2 separate regions of the Homo sapiens genome follow, and region 2 is linked to region 1. The links are contacts of gene promoters, found by promoter capture Hi-C in blood cells and fetal thymus (Javierre and others, 2016). All regions are on one chromosome and are shown on one strand. Each heading gives the region's core, a stretch centred on a gene start or on the middle of the fragment in contact. The rest is flanking DNA. Distances are from core to core; before and after follow the strand shown.

Region 1 (3,064 bases), core at 275-2,774:
CTTTAAAAAGCATTGTCCTAAACCCGCCTGCTTCCCAGCCATCTCAGGCCCGCGCTCTCCTCGCCCCTGCAGGGCGCGAGCCCCACCTGAGTCTGGGTGAGGCCCAGAGAGGCCGCCAGCTCGGCTCGCTCCGGCAAGGCCAAGTATTGAGTCTTTTGGAAACGCCGCTGAAGAGCCGCCAGCTGGAAACTGGAGTAGATGGTGCGGGGTTTCCGGACTTTCTTTGGCTTCCCGTTCACTATCCGAATTTCAGGCTCAAGGTCCTCCTTCTCTGCAACGATAAAGAATCGTAAGAACAGCGCAACCCAGGGGTCCTGGAGTTCCCGCCCTCCTAGAGGGCCCGGCGGGGGGGACTTGGCTTGAGCAAAGAGGTGGGTGCACTGAACTGTGGCGCCACGGGCAGGCGCAACTTCGCAGCGTGCGATCGGAGCCGCCACCGACCCCGGGAGCTGTACCCTCCAGGGAAGGGGGAGACAAGTGCACACCCAAGAGAAAGAAGCTGGTGGCAAGGAGATGCCCTTATGAGGCAGGCAGAGCACGCCCACTTGGCTCTTGAGGCCACCAGGTCCTACCAAAGGAGAGAGGGACGTAACCGGCGACCTGCGGCAGATTGGAGGCTGGGGAGGGTAAAGGGCACAAGCGGGCGGTGAGCAGGCAGCGTGAAAATCCAGAGCTTTCGAAGGCCCCCCGCCCCAAACACGTTTACCCATCCATCCCATTAACTAGACCGACTCGGCACTCTTGACTTCAGCGTTATGCATACCAGGCTCGTTGTTGGCTGGGGACGAACTGGTTCCATAGGGAGCGTAGGAGGTGTAGGCGGCGGTGTAGCCCAGGTCATAGCTGCTCTTGGCGGAGTAAGGGACGTTGTTGAGGCCGCTGGCTTGGTACTGGTAGGAACCCATGTGCGCGTAGGGCGAGCCCCCGCCGCCGCCGCCGCCCGCCGGGTGCTGCTGGTTGGTGTAGTAGCTGCTGTCGGTGGCGGTGGACACCGGAAGGGTGGGCGACTCCTGGGGCTTGTGGAGGCTGCTGCTGCTGCTGCTGTTGCCACCCGGGCCGGCGCCGCCGCCGCTCGGGGGCTGCTGGTGCTGGTGGTACGTGCTGGAGGCGGCGATCTGGGTCGAGTGCATATCAGCCACTAGACTGTCAAAGACTCCAGTCATCCTGGCCCGAGACGGGAAAGAGCAGAGGTGGCGGGCGTGCGGGGGAAGCCAGGCGCCTCCTCTGTCTCTCCCGGTCCCCTCCAGCAGCCAATGTAATTACGGGGGTGGTGGTGGGGAAACAAGAAAGGAGGCAACCGTCTAGGCGCCTCCTCCTCCGGGGGAGGCGATCACCGTGCGCTGCTCGGGACAGCTGCCTCTGGTCGCATCCTCTTTCGGCCTCTGGGCCCGCTCGGCTCCTTGCCCAGCGCGAGCGCGGGCTCTGGCGGGGGGCGGGCAGTGGAGGGGGCAGGGGTGGCTGGGCCGGGTCGGGGCTCTGGGAGGCGGGAGCAGGTGAGCGGCCCCGAGCGGCTTTACGATTGTCTGCCAGGCGGGCTCCTGAAGTGTGGGCATTTAACACTCGTCACGTGAGCGCTGGCGACGTCACCTAGCAACAGCCAATCAGAAGCAAACGGCCGCGGAGCTCCGGGAACGCCCGGCCAAGGGGCGGGCGTCACATGGTGGGCGCTGTGGCTGCGGCTGCGGCTGCAGCGGCCCCAGGTGCAAACAGACTGCCGCCGAATGTGAGCAGCGAGGCGAGGGGTCGAGGTAGCGAGGAGTCAGGGTGGCCCGCAGCAGGAAGACAGAAGGCGTGGAGACAGACTGGCGTTTTGCCTCAGAGGAAGAAGTGGGGTCCCCTCTCCCATTCTGTGAGCAAGTGCCAGTTCCAGTGATTCGTACTTTCATGTCCGAGGTCAGTTTTCAAACACATTAAAGTACATCGGTGCCCAGAGTCCAGCCAGCTCTATCTTCACTTTTCCTCGAAGTGTCTGGCATTTATTCTTGTTAGCCACTCGGCACTTGACATAATCAATTGATTTAATTATCCACAAACCACGTGTAATGCTCGCTTCTTAACCAATCCGCAGGGATATTAGGACAATTAATCATATAATATTGAAACGGGTTTTCCTTGTTGCTTCAAAGAGAAGCTACATAAACTTAAAGGTATTATTGCTAATAGTATATTTGAAACCACTTTCCCTGGTACTTTCCCGACACGCGAGACTCTGAGTAATTATATACGTTTGATAAGTAAATGACACCCTGAAAGCCATCCCGAGGACTTCCTCCTTCGGGTGGAAAGGTTCACCAGTTGTCCTTGAAAATTCGATGCTCTTGCGAAAAAGGAAATAGGATAATAGGTGAGATTATAGATTTATCAAGTAGATACTAGATTTATCACTTCTCTGTAAATTTACAACAAATATAAAAAGTTTTATCTGGTTTGTTGAATTTAATCCTGTTTTACAGTTTTGCATTTTAGGACCCTGTTCTACCCTATCATTGCAATTTTTTTCTTTTCCCTCTGTTTTTTAAAAAATCGGAAATGGTGACTTCCTCTGTCTCTATAACCTTGTAGTTGGAAACCTTGGCCCGACGGTGATGGACTGCACGACTTGCTGGACTCCCAAGTCCGAAGTTCCTGCGGCAGCGCTTGCTTTGTGGCGCCACCTGGTGGGCAGTGTGCGAGGTTGCGGGGGGCGGGGTAGACGGTCTAATCACGCCCAGGCGCCAGCCTCTGAAACCCCCCAAAAGAACAAAATAGTAATTAAAAGCCACAAAATTGTGCTAGTGCGCACCATCTGAAGCACCCTTTCCTAAAGACATAACATGTCGCTGAAAGAACTTGTTAAAACAACTGTCTGATAGAAAACAAGTTGATACCTTCAAAAATATGATCTTTGGTCTTCTTCCCCATAAAAAGCAAGTGTGTAATTAAAACTCCAGCATTCACACAGAGAAATAATGAGATAGGTAATGCGCCTTTAAGTCTACCTGGATTTAGTTCCCAGCTTTTTTTTGGTTAAGGAAGGCCCCTAGATGGAAAGCGCCAGCTTATGAGAAACGTTGGAGGTGGAGCT
Region 2 (3,064 bases), core at 266-2,765, 1.4 Mb before region 1:
GCTTAGCCCGGCCCTGCCCGCCTCCCTGGGAAAGGGGACTTCGAAGATCTCAAAGAAGCTGGAAAGGAAACCAGCGCTAAGGAACCAGATCGCTTCGAGGGTGCAAGCATGTGCAGGCGCGAGTGTGTGCCAAGGGGCTCCCTGGCCTCCGACTTGCATCCAGGGAAGAGCTCCCTCGAGTCTCACGCTTCTCCAAGACTCAAATCCTGGACGGGAGCGTGGGAAGGAGCAGGTTGGCCAGGCCTCGGATGAAACCACTAAGCTCTCTCCCCTTCTCCGCTCCCAGAGCAGCCGACCTCATCTTCAGAAGCCAGATCGGGTCGGCCAAGTTGTGTGGTCGCCGCTCGCGTTTTAGAGGGGACAACTCGTTGGGGGAGAAGGGGGCGTGCGAGTGCAGGATGTGCGAGGGACCCATTGTATTTGGGTCGCAAGCAGCCCACCCGTCTTGAGTACGATATTCTCATTCCGCAGGCGCGCCCTGGGCGTGGGAGAAGGTGGGCCCGGAGGCATCGCATCCCCGACCCCTGATGGAAGTGCGGAGGGCATCCTTATACAGTCCAGATTCCGAGTCCGTTGTAGTTAGGCTAACCTCTGACGCTGCATCGGGAGATAGGTCACCCCGTCCGTCCCGGTCGCAGTGCGGTTCCCGTGAGGAAGACGGGCAGAGAGGCCGGGCGCGAACTGATTAGGGGCTCCCCCACGGCCGGCGGCCTGGAGAGTGGAGACTGTGTCCGACGGGAGGTGGGTGGGGGAGAGGAGTAGGCCGAGCTCCGGCGGCCACTCCGCAGTGCGCTCTCGCGAGCCGGGGCCGCGAGGCCTCCAACGCGGTTCCGCACCCCTAATGCCCCAGGGCGGTGAGCACCCCGCGGTTCCCCGCCCGCCTCTTCCTCCTTCCCCGCCCGCGCGCCCGGGAGAGGCGATCCCCGCGTCCGCAGTGCCGGGGCAGGACGCGCCCTGCGCCCTGGGCCAGGAGGAGGCAGGTGGCCCTCCTCGGCAGGAGGTGAGCCGCCAGGGAGGGATGGGGGTCACCCAAGCCCCTGCAAGCGCGACCCTGCCCAGAGCAAAGCACGCCCCGCGCCTGGTGAGGAACTTTTTCTTTCCAAAGGTGGCAGGAACAAGTCTGTACTGACTTTTCTCCCGCCTTCGGGATCCTCTCTCGTATGATTTGTGGTTTGTGGGACCACAACAACCAGGCTTCCTCGACCGCGCCTTTTTTCCAGTAGCTCCTGGTCTGCCAGGCTTGCGAGAGGGCGCGCTGGCTTGGCGGGGCTCCGGGCGAGAAATCACCAGCAGCGCTGGGGCTTTCGGCCCCCCACAGCCCAGCCCGGGCCTCCTGGGTGGCCTGGGGAGAAGGGGGCGGGACAGCACAGCTTCTTCCCCTCGGGTGGGCATGACGGGTCGCCTTGGGTGTCCTGCCGAGCTCAGCTTTGAGGGTATGCGCGGCGCGGGTGTTTTTCCCAGGTCCACTCTGCAAAAGTTGTGGCCTGAGGAAAACTTCCAGGTCGCCAGCAGGAACGTCACAGGAGAGCCCCGGTCGCTCGTCAGGCGGGCGGCCCTGGAGCGTGCGCGCCACCCAACGCCGCGCTGGGCGGCCGCCCGGCCCCGCCCCAGGTCACAGCCCTGCCCTCGGCCCCACCGCGGCGGGCGGGGGACACGCGGCGGGCCGGGCGCTGTCGGTCCCACGCCCCACCGGGGATCTCGCTTGGGTCCGCTGTGTGCGCGGGCGGGTGCGTGTGCGGCGAGGGTGCAGGGTGTGCAAGTAAATACAGGGGAGAGTTACACTCTTTGCCGTCTCAAAGTCCGGCGCCTGGAAGCCGAAGGCAGATTTTTCCAGAGATAACAAAGACACTTTGTCACTTTGGGCGCTGCGTCGGTGCAAATCTTTAATTGCAAGTGTGTGTGTGTGTGTGTGTGTGTATGTTGGGGGGGGCGGGAAGAGTGTCTCGAGCAACCCAAGCGCGGGTCTCCAGGCGGCAAGGCCCCCTTTGATCAGGAAAATCCAATTATTTGTGTATATACATTTCCCACATAGTGATTACTTCATTAATTGTCCCGCCTTTATCTCCTCCCTTCCCATCCCCCCTAATAATCAGTTCTTTTATCCAGACCAACAAACACACCATAGGAGCTTTGTGGATTCAAAGGATTTGCTTTCGCTTCTGAAAGAGCCGCTATTCTTTGATGATTGGGTAGCGGCAAACTTCAAAGCCATAAATCTTCCCTCTGACTGGCTGGCGGCCCAGCAAAGTCCTTATCAAATTCTTGGAGGTGATCCTGAAGCGCTCAGACCGCGCGCGGGGCGAGCGAGCGGGGCGCGGCGAGGGGCAAGGGCGGGGAGGGCCCCGGCGCTCAGAGCAGGCGCCAGGGAGGCAGGCTGGGCGGCCCTTCGTCCTCGCCTTCGGGTGTCCATGCCTCGGCGGCGGCGTCCCGCTCCGCAGCCAGGGGCCTGCAAGCCGTAGCCATGGCCGCGGTGGCCGTCCTCCGGAACGACTCGCTGCAGGCCTTTCTCCAGGTCAGGGCCGAGCCCGGAGGGGGCGGGAGAAAGGTGGAAAGGGCCGTGTCCGGATCTCTCCTGGTACTCCGTGCACCTTGAACCTCAAAGGGAACCCCGCCGATGGGTGCAGCTGGAGCCAGGCCTAGGGGTGCCCACGCCAACTTCACACCTAATCCGGTGTGGCCTTTGCTGGAGGGACGCGTGGATCCGGGATTGTTCGGAGGTGCCCGGCTGGCCGAGAACAGGACCGGAGCTCACCCTGCTGGGCCCTCCTGCTGATTTCAGCCTGGGGCGGGCCAGGGAGGAGCGCGAAGGCAGTGAGGACAAGAGAGCTTAAAAGATGGGAGGGAGAGCGGCCGGCCGGCGGGGTTGTGGGTGTTTCCCGACTCTTACTGACCACGGAGCCGGGAGGGGCCCGTCGGATGCCTCCCCCTCCCACTTCGCGCCTGCTTCCTCTAAGGCTGGATGGCGTCTCAGTGCACCAAGTAGTTTAGCAAGAAGCGCTCGCGGGCCCCACGTTCAGGTAGCGCAGGCACCAAAAGTTTCCCTCGGCCGGTGGGTGCGTGCGTG

The links. Contacts are between HindIII fragments. The CHiCAGO score rates a contact against its expected background, and 5 or more counts as called.
Region 2: the fragment with the promoter of LINC01124 here is called in contact with the fragment with the promoter of DLX2 in region 1 in 2 of 17 cell types (naive B cells and total B cells); the score reaches 13.5 in naive B cells.

What each region holds. Positions count from the first base shown.
Region 1 is chr2:172,101,376-172,104,439 of GRCh38, forward strand. DLX2 (distal-less homeobox 2) reads right to left here and starts at 1,525. Exons shown (of 3, transcript NM_004405.4): 1 at 764-1,525; 2 at 87-271. The coding sequence starts at 1,163. DLX2-DT (DLX2 divergent transcript) reads left to right here and starts at 1,631. Exons shown (of 5, transcript NR_126376.1): 1 at 1,631-1,893; 2 at 2,563-2,657. RefSeq lists a silencer at 1,327-1,526. The HindIII fragment of the contact is 7,057 bases long and covers 1-3,064 here.
Region 2 is chr2:170,713,052-170,716,115 of GRCh38, forward strand. It overlaps LINC01124 (long intergenic non-protein coding RNA 1124), which reads right to left and starts at 1,516. Exons shown (of 1, transcript NR_027433.1): 1 at 1-1,516. SP5 (Sp5 transcription factor) reads left to right here and starts at 2,286. Exons shown (of 2, transcript NM_001003845.3): 1 at 2,286-2,512. The coding sequence starts at 2,462. The region is part of intron 5 of ERICH2-DT (ERICH2 divergent transcript); the gene reads right to left. RefSeq lists a silencer at 1,603-1,652 and enhancers at 1,870-2,659, 2,660-3,064. The HindIII fragment of the contact is 7,273 bases long and covers 1-3,064 here.